Linked DNA regions of Homo sapiens: region 1 is linked to region 2. The links are contacts of gene promoters, found by promoter capture Hi-C in human tissues and cell types (Jung and others, 2019). All regions are on one chromosome and are shown on one strand. The core of a region is centred on a gene start or on the middle of the fragment in contact, and the rest is flanking DNA. Distances in the headings are between cores, read along the strand shown. Region 1 overlaps CKM (creatine kinase, M-type). Region 2 holds the start of TOMM40 (translocase of outer mitochondrial membrane 40).

What was found. The method cuts DNA at HindIII sites, captures the fragments that hold promoters and counts their contacts. A contact is called where the count stands out against the background at its distance.
Region 1: a contact is called between a fragment that was not itself captured here and the fragment with the promoter of TOMM40 in region 2, in 1 of the 25 tissues and cell types used here (lymphoblastoid cells).

Annotation. Positions count from the first base shown.
Region 1 is chr19:45,306,997-45,311,252 of GRCh38, forward strand. It overlaps CKM (creatine kinase, M-type), which reads right to left. Exons shown (of 8, transcript NM_001824.5): 6 at 1,413-1,536; 7 at 465-654. Among named protein-coding and RNA genes, the nearest start is that of CKM, 14 kb to the right of the region's middle. RefSeq lists a silencer at 1,534-1,691. The HindIII fragment of the contact is 3,883 bases long and covers 308-4,190 here.
Region 2 is chr19:44,888,403-44,892,981 of GRCh38, forward strand. TOMM40 (translocase of outer mitochondrial membrane 40) reads left to right here and starts at 2,852. Exons shown (of 9, transcript NM_001128917.2): 1 at 2,852-3,287; 2 at 3,991-4,058; 3 at 4,435-4,527. The coding sequence starts at 3,014. It overlaps NECTIN2 (nectin cell adhesion molecule 2), which reads left to right. Exons shown (of 9, transcript NM_001042724.2): 9 at 1-821. RefSeq lists enhancers at 1,408-1,909, 2,079-2,238 and a silencer at 2,549-3,188. The HindIII fragment of the contact is 8,270 bases long and covers 1-4,579 here.

The DNA of each region.
Region 1 (4,256 bases), core at 999-3,498, 420 kb after region 2:
TGCCAAATGCAACAGCCGCATGTAGTGAGTGCCTACTGTGTAACAGGTTACCTGCACACAGGTAATGCCTGTTCATTCGTGAGCTCACGAGTCTCTGACTTCAGATGGGGTACCACGCCACTCAGTTATCAAACATAGTATAGTGGGTAAGAGAGTGGGTTCTGGAGCCAGGCGGCCTAGGGTCGAATCCTGACCACTCCTCGCTTTATAAATGGGGAAACTGAGGCCCCGAGGGAGGTCCAAGGGCATGTGCAATGCATATTATATAATCATGAAAATCCCACATTGACTCCTATCACATAGGCATATTGACACCCATTTTACAGAGGAAGAAATGCAAGCTCACAGAGGGTCAGCCCTTGCCGGATCCCCAGAACTCGCAGGGATGTCGCACCTCTCCTTGCATCCCTGCAAAGGGCCCTCGCTCCCCCTCCGTCGTGGTGCAAAGGATGTGGGAGCCGTACCTGTACCCCTCTTCTGCAGACGCAGGCGGGTGAGGATCTCCTCGAACTTGGGGTGCTTGCTCAGGTGCGCCAGCTTCACATGCACGCCTCCACGCAGCCCAGTGCCCAGGTTGGATGGGCAGGTGAGCACGTAGCCCAGGTGCTGGTTCCACATGAAGGGGTGGCCAGCTTTCTTAAAGATCTCCTCAATCTGAGGTTCAGAGAGAGGACCAGGGGTCAGCGCCGGCAGGCACCCCCAAATGCACCCGCAACATGGACAGGGTCCGGAGGGACAGGGCGTGGGAACGTGGTGGAGGTGGGATTCTGAGGGGAACAGGGAGGTAGGAGATTCCGAGGGTGCTGGCTAGACAATGGGGACCAAGGCAGGATTTTGAGGGGCGGGGACTAAGAACGCTTTGAAGGCGGGTTTTTTTTTTTTTTTTTTCCAGAGTCTCTCTGTGTCACCCAGGCTGGAGTGCAATGGCGTGATCTCGTCTCACTGCAACCTCTGCCTCCCAGGTTCAAGCGATTCTCCTGCCTCAGCCTCCCGAGTAGCTGGGACTACAGGCGCGCGCCACTACGCCTGGATAATTTATTTATTTATTAATTTTTTAGTATAGAGACGGGGTTTCACCATGTTGGCCAGGCTGGTCTTGAACTCCTGACCCTCCTCAGCCTCCCAAAGTGCTGGGATTACAGGCGTGAGCCACCGCTCCCGGCCTGAAGGCGGATCCTTACGGGCGGGGCTTGGGCATAGGGTGGAGCTGGGTCCAGGGGCGGGGCCCTGAAAAGCGGGTGGGGCTAGTTTTGGGGGGCGGGGTTTGGCATGGGGTGGAGCCAGGTCCGGGGGGCAGGGCCCTGGAAAATGGGTGGGGCAGGGCTTAGTATAGGGGAAGGGGCGGGGCCTCGGAAAGCAGGTGGGGCGTTCAAGGTGGAGTCAGAAGTCAGCAGCTAAGGGCAGACACCCACCTTCTGCAGCCCTACGCAGAAGCGGCGGAAAACCTCCTTCATGTTGCCCCCCTTCTCCATGGAGATGACCCGGAGGTGATCCTCCTCGTTCACCCACACCAGGAAGCTCTTGTTGTCATTGTGCCTAGAGTAAGGTGCCGCAGCAAGAGGCCAAGGTGTCAGCCCCGTGGGAACCCCATTCCCAGCCCTCCCCCAAAACATCTGCCCACCGATGGGGGAAGAGGGCCTGAGGGGTGGGAGGTGGGTGGCATCTGCCTCCTCAAAACGCAGAAGCTTAAACCTGTAGACTCTAATGTCACAGGATCTGCAAAACGCTGAATCCTGGGATCAAGGACTTTTAGGGACTTAAGTCTTTGAACAGTATTATTATAGATCCTTGGGATCTCAGGATGTTTGACAAACAGAAGCTTGGGATCAGAACTGATAACACTTGGTAATCCTACATCTGGTTTCAGGACCAGAAAATCTTCCCATCGTAGTGTGTTAGCTCCCAATCCTAGCATCTCAGAAGCAGGATCTTAGAACATAAAATATTAAGGCTGGGTGCGGTGGCTCACGCCTGTAATCCCAGCACTTTGGGAGGCCGAGGCGGGCGGATCACAAGGTCAGGAGATCGACACCATCCTGGCTAACACGTCGAAACCCTGTCTCTACTAAAAAATACAAAAAAAAATCTGGGCATGGTGGCGGGCATCTGTAGTCCCAGCTACTCAGGAGGCTGAGGCAAGAGAATGGCGAGAACCCGGGAGGTGGAGCTTGCAGTGAGTCGAGATCGCGCCACTGCACTCCAGCCTGGGCAACAGAGCGAGACTCCATCTCAAAAAAAAAAAAAAAAAAGAACATAAAATATTAAGATCCGGAAATGGCCGGGTGTGGTGGCTCATGCCTGTAATCCCAGCACTTTGGGAGGCCAAGGCCGGAGGATTGCTTGAGCCCAGGAGTTCAAGACTACCCTGGGCAACATGGCAAGACCCACATATCTACAAAATTTAAAAAATTAGCAGGCATGGTGGGACACATGCCTGTAGTCCAAGCCACTGGGGAGGCTGAGGCGGGAGGATCACTTGACCTTGGAAGGTCCAGGCTGCAGCGAGCTATGATCCCACCACTGCACTCCAGCCTGGGCAACAGAGCAAGACCCTGTCTCAAAAAAAAAAAAAAAAAAACCTGAGGGCAGGCATGGTGGCTCACGCTTGTAATCCCAGCACTTTGGGAGGCTGAGGTGGGCGGATCACTTAAGGTGAAGAGTTCGAGACCAGCCTGAGCAACATGGCAGAACGCTGTCTCTACCAAAAATACGAAAACTAGCTGGGCACAGTGGCACATGCCTGTCGTCCTAGCTACTAAGGAGGCGGAGGGTGAGAGGATCGTTTGAACCCGGGAGATGGAGGTTTCAGTGAGTCGAGATCAACCCACTGCACTCCAGCCTGGGCCTCAGAGTGAGAGTCCATCTCAAAATAAATAAATAAATAAATGAGTGGAATCTTAAAACCTAAAAATATTTAAAATCTTGAAATCTTAGAATCATCCCATCTGTATATCTTAGCACCCAGGCTCCCTTCATCGATTGAAACCTAGGTTCTCTAAATCTTTGACTATCTGAATCAGGGATTCAAAGAGTCAAAACAAGTCTAGCAATAATACTTTATAATAAAGATAAGACGAATAACCAAGATGTACTGAACACTTAGTGTATACCAGGCACTGCTTTTTTTTTTTTTTTTTTTTTTGAGACAGAGTCTTGGTCTGTCGCCCAGGCTGGAGTGCAGTGATGCGATCTTGGCTCACTTCAAGCTCCGCCTCCCGGGTTCACGCCATTCTCCTGCCTCAGCCTCACGAGTAAGTAGGACTACAGGCGCCTGCCACCAAGCCCAGCTAATTTTTTGTATTTTTAGTAGAGACGGGGTTTCACCATGTTAGCCAGGATGGTCTCGATCTCCTGACCTCGTGATCCGCCCGCCTTGGCCTCCCAAAGTGCTGGGATTACAGGCGTGAGCCACCGCGCCTGGCCCAGGCACTGCTTTTAATACTTTACATAAATTAACTCATTTAATCCTCACAAGAACACCAGAAACTACAAATTATTGTGATCCCTATCCTATAGCTAGGAAACTGGGGTAGAGAAAAATAAAATAAGTTGCCCAAGGTCACAAAGCTAGTAAAGTTAGTAAATGGTAGAGCTGGGATTTGAACCTAGGGAGTACGGTTCAAGTCTGAGTTCTTATTTTTGAGACAGGTAGCTGGAGTGCAGTACCTCGGTCATGATTCACAGTAACCTCAATCCTCTGGGCCCAGCTGATCCTCAGCCTCTCGAGTAGCTGGGACCACAGGTATACGCCATCACGCCTGGCTTTTTTTTTTTTTTTTTTTTTTTTTTTTTTTTGAGACGGAGTCTCCTGTCGCCCAGGCTGGAGTGCAGTGGCACGATCTCAGCTCACTGCAAGCTCCGCCTCTTGGGTTCAGGCCATTCTCCTGCCTCAGCCTCCCAAGTAGCTGGGACTACAGGCGCCTGCCACGACGCCGGGCTAATTTTTTTTTTTTTTTTGTAGTTTTAGTAGAGACGGGGTTTCACCGTGTTAGCCAGGATGGTGTCAATCTCCTGACCTCGTGATCCGCCCACCTTGGCCTCCCAAAGTGCTGGGATTACAGGCGTGAGCCACCGCGCCTGGCTTTTTTTTTTTTTAATTTTTGTAGCGACGTGGTCTCCCTATGTTGCCCAGGCTGGTCTAGAACTCCTGGGCACAAGCGACCCTCCTGCTGCAGCCTCCCAAAGTGCTGGGATTACAGGTGTGAGCCACTGTGCCCGGCCAAGTCTAAGTTCTTTCTTTTTTGTTTGTTTTTTTT
Region 2 (4,579 bases), core at 1,602-4,101:
CATCTCACCTGTTGATCCCTTAGCTTTCTTGCCAAGGATCTAGTGCCCCCTGACCTCTGGCCAGGCCACTGTCAGTTAACACATATGCATTCCATTTGTGATGTCTACCTTGGTGGCTCCACTATGACCCCTAACCCATGAGCCCAGAGAAATTCACCGTGATAATGGAATCCTGGCAACCTTATCTCATGAGGCAGGAGGTGGGGAAGGTGCTTCTGCACAACCTCTGATCCCAAGGACTCCTCTCCCAGACTGTGACCTTAGACCATACCTCTCACCCCCCAATGCCTCGACTCCCCCAAAATCACAAAGAAGACCCTAGACCTATAATTTGTCTTCAGGTAGTAAATTCCCAATAGGTCTGCTGGAGTGGGCGCTGAGGGCTCCCTGCTGCTCAGACCTGAGCCCTCCAGGCAGCAGGGTCCCACTTACCCCCTCCCCACCCTGTTCCCCAAAGGTGGGAAAGAGGGGATTCCCCAGCCCAAGGCAGGGTTTTCCCAGCACCCTCCTGTAAGCAGAAGTCTCAGGGTCCAGACCCTTCCCTGAGCCCCCACCCCCACCCCAATTCCTGCCTACCAAGCAAGCAGCCCCAGCCTAGGGTCAGACAGGGTGAGCCTCATACAGACTGTGCCTTGATGGCCCCAGCCTTGGGAGAAGAATTTACTGTTAACCTGGAAGACTACTGAATCATTTTACCCTTGCCCAGTGGAATAGGACCTAAACATCCCCCTTCCGGGGAAAGTGGGTCATCTGAATTGGGGGTAGCAATTGATACTGTTTTGTAAACTACATTTCCTACAAAATATGAATTTATACTTTGACCAGGTCTTGCCTTTTCTGTGGGATGTGAAGGGGATGGGGTGAGACATGAAGGGGAATGAGGAAGGAGTCTAAGGGCTTGAGAGAATCAGTGAACTGGGGTCAAGAGAGTTAAAGACAAAAACAAAGGGACCAAAGATACAAAATAAGAATTGAGAGAGTAATGAGCAAAAATGTATCAATCAAAAACAAAATTTTTTTTTTTTTTGAGGCGGAGTCTCGCTCTGTCGCCCAGGCTGGAGTGCAGTGGCATGATCTCGGCTCACTGCAAGCTCCACCTTCTGAGTTAACGCCATTCCTCTGCCTCAGCCTCCCGAGTAGCTGGGACTACAGGCGCCCACCACCACGCCCGGCTTATTTTTTGTATTTTTAGTAGAGACGGGGTTTCACCGCGTTAGCCAAGATGGTCTCGATCTCCTGACCTCGTGATCCACCCGTCTCGGCCTCCCAAAGTGCTGGGATTACAGGCGTGAGCCACTGCGCCCAGCCCTAAAAACAGAATGTTGAGTAATGGAATGGGGAGGGGTCCAGGGCATGCTGTTTAATGAACATTCATAATTGCAACAGCAGTATGATGAATGGGACAAAGATAAAAATAGCAATTGGCCAGATGCAGTGGCTCATTCCTGTAATTCCAGCACTTCGGGAAACTGAGGCGGGAAGCTCGACTGAGTCCAGGAGTTAAGAGACCAGCCTGGGAAACACAGTGAGACCCCGCCTCTACGAAAGTTAGCCGGGCGTGGTGGCACGCACCTGTAGTTCAGCTACTCTGGAGGCTGAGGTAGGAGGATCGATTGAGGCCAGAAGTTCAAGGCTGCAGTAAGCTATGATGGCGCCACTGCACTCCAGCCTGAGTGACAGAGTCCAACCTTGTCTTTAAAAAAATAAAAATTAAAAAAGCAGTAACGAAAGTATAAGAGGCTCAAGTTTAATGAATAAACGGCAAGTAAAAGTAGACTAAAGGCAAAATCATGAATAATGTTGTAATAGGAGCCCAAGGCATGACGGATAATAAACCTGAATGAATGGGCCAGAGGCAGAGTGATGAATAATGGAAAAATAGGGACCGGGGGCAAGGGAGGTAACGGACAGGAGTTCATGGATCCAAAACATGATGGCTAATTAGAGAAGGGCCGGAAGAACGACGAAAGTGAGCAGGCAGGCTGGAGCTAAAAGTAGTCTGGGCAATGAAGCTCAAATGAATGGGGCAGAGGCATGATGGGTAATGGGAGAGGAATGAATGGGCCAAAGATAGAAGCCGCAGTGACGCGAGGAACAAGAGGCATGATGGGTAACGAAAGGGGTGGGTCTAAGGCAACTGTTTCGCTAAGAGGTGATGAGGGCATTGTGGGTAACGAGGAGCAGCGCAGGGTTCGCAGAACAGATTAGAATTCTCCCGAGGCACTCTGGGAAGGGCCAGCACTTCCGGTTTTAGGTCGGCTACTCCGAACCAGAGGTGGGGTGGGGGCCCGGCTGCCGCGGTGCCTGGTGGGACGCGAGGCCTGACCTTGCTGCCTAGCCGCCTCTGCCGCGCAACCCACCTTTACCTGTCCTTCGACCCTGGAACGTTAGCCAATGAGAGTACCAAGCTGATACGCCACCAAGGTCGACCCCGTACACGCTGGAGCCAATCAAAATGCTGCAAGGGTCAAAGCCGACCAATTATCACAGCAACCTCGCCGCGGGGCGGAATCAAAAGAGGGCCTCCTCCAGGAGAGAGGCGGGGCGATGCCTCAGCGGGCGTGGCAAAATGCTCAGCACAGACCAATGGCGGGTTAGCACCGGAACCCGCGGCGACGCGAGCCAATAGGCGCAGGCGCTGCGAGCCAATGGGAAGGGTGGGAGGGGCGCCGTGGCTACCCTGCGAGTGAGAACCAATACAAAAGGACATTTCAGGGAAAGTGGGCGGGACTTTATGCACAAGTCCAATGGGAAGACCGAGTCTTGACGCTGGTGGGCGGGCCTCAGGGCACACTAAACCAATGGGCTAGGTGGGGCGGGGCGACGGTGGTGGCGGCGGCGGCAGCGGGTTCGGTTGCGCGTGGCGCACGGGGTGGGAGCGGAGCCCAGGCCGGGAGCAGGCGCCGCCGCCAGTGAGAACCGGGGCCGGAGCCGGGTGCGGATTTGCTGGGGCTGAGTCGGGGGCGCGCGGGCCCTGACCTCTGCCCTCTGACCTCTCCCCTAGCAGGCGACCATGGGGAACGTGTTGGCTGCCAGCTCGCCGCCCGCAGGGCCGCCACCGCCGCCTGCGCCGGCCCTCGTGGGGCTGCCGCCACCTCCGCCCTCGCCGCCGGGCTTCACGCTGCCGCCGCTGGGAGGCAGCCTGGGCGCCGGCACCAGTACGAGTCGAAGTTCGGAACGGACCCCCGGGGCTGCAACCGCCAGCGCCTCAGGGGCCGCCGAGGATGGGGCCTGCGGCTGCCTGCCCAACCCGGGCACATTCGAGGAGTGCCACCGGAAGTGCAAGGGTGAGGGGCGAGGGGCCCCCGCTGGGCTGCGATGGCCTGGATCTCGGGGGAAGGGGGAGGACACTGGGGACTCTGGGATTTGGCGCGCACCATTGGAATTATTTAACAGCACTAGGAGGTGATGTTGGGATCGAATGGTGGAACGTTGGACTTGGGGCTTAGAATGATGGAATCAAATGCTGGAAACGGGATGGAATGTCATAGCAGTAGAGAAAAGCCTTTAGGGACCTGAGGAGCCCCGGGATCAGCCAAGCCAGACTTCTCTTGTGATCGGGAAGGCAACTGAGGCCCAAGGTCACGGTGTCAGCAAGGTGTCAGCGAGGTTCCTTGGGTATGGGACCCAAAGCCTCCGGATCCCAGCCTGGAGCAATTAGAGTAGTAGTAGTGGTGGAGATTTATGGAGTTCTGTTCTGGTGTTCATTATACGTTAACTCATTAGATCCTTGGGACAATTCTGTGTGGTGAGGGTCCCATCTTTCAGATGATGAGTTTGACCTAAAGTTGCTCAGCTTGGTGGCAGTGAGATTTGAGCAAGCAAAGGCCCTGGCCCTGTCTAACTAGGCTGTACTGCCTCTTTACAGGTGGAATCCTTTGTGAGATGTTCTGCTGTGGGTCTCTGGAGAGAGCTGGGGGTGGTAGGGAAGGAAGAGATGAGAGTTGGTGTGGGGTTGGAGTGGAGTGTGACAGCGTTTCTCTTCTCCAGAGCTGTTTCCCATTCAGATGGAGGGTGTCAAGCTCACAGTCAACAAAGGGTTGAGTAACCATTTTCAGGTGAGCCTTCCTGGTGTCCTTACCCACCAGAGATCGTCCCCGCCGTCCCCCTCCCTGCATCTGCACACTCGGCCCAATTACTCCTCCCTCAAGAGCTGGGCTCCCTGATACTTGAAAAGACTCGGAGATATAGTGCCAGACTGACTACTCAGTTTGGGGACCTAGAATCCAGAGGTACTGTCTCCCCATAGCAGCTAGGCTGGAGTGAAGGAACAGGTCTGTGGGCCTACCGGCAGCACCTCCTTTCTCTGAGTCTCTTAGTCAGGCCGTGCCTCCCAGTCTTCATCCCCTGCCCAGCCCAGAGACCTTGTCCTTGCCCTCTTCAGTGGGCAAGCCTATCTGTCCAGTATCGTCACAGCTCTCGCTTTCCTTCCAGGTCAACCACACAGTAGCCCTCAGCACAATCGGGGAGTCCAACTACCACTTCGGGGTCACATATGTGGGGACAAAGCAGCTGAGTCCCACAGAGGTGAGCTTCCTTTTTCATCCATTCATTGTATCCTTCTAATAACAAATTTGTA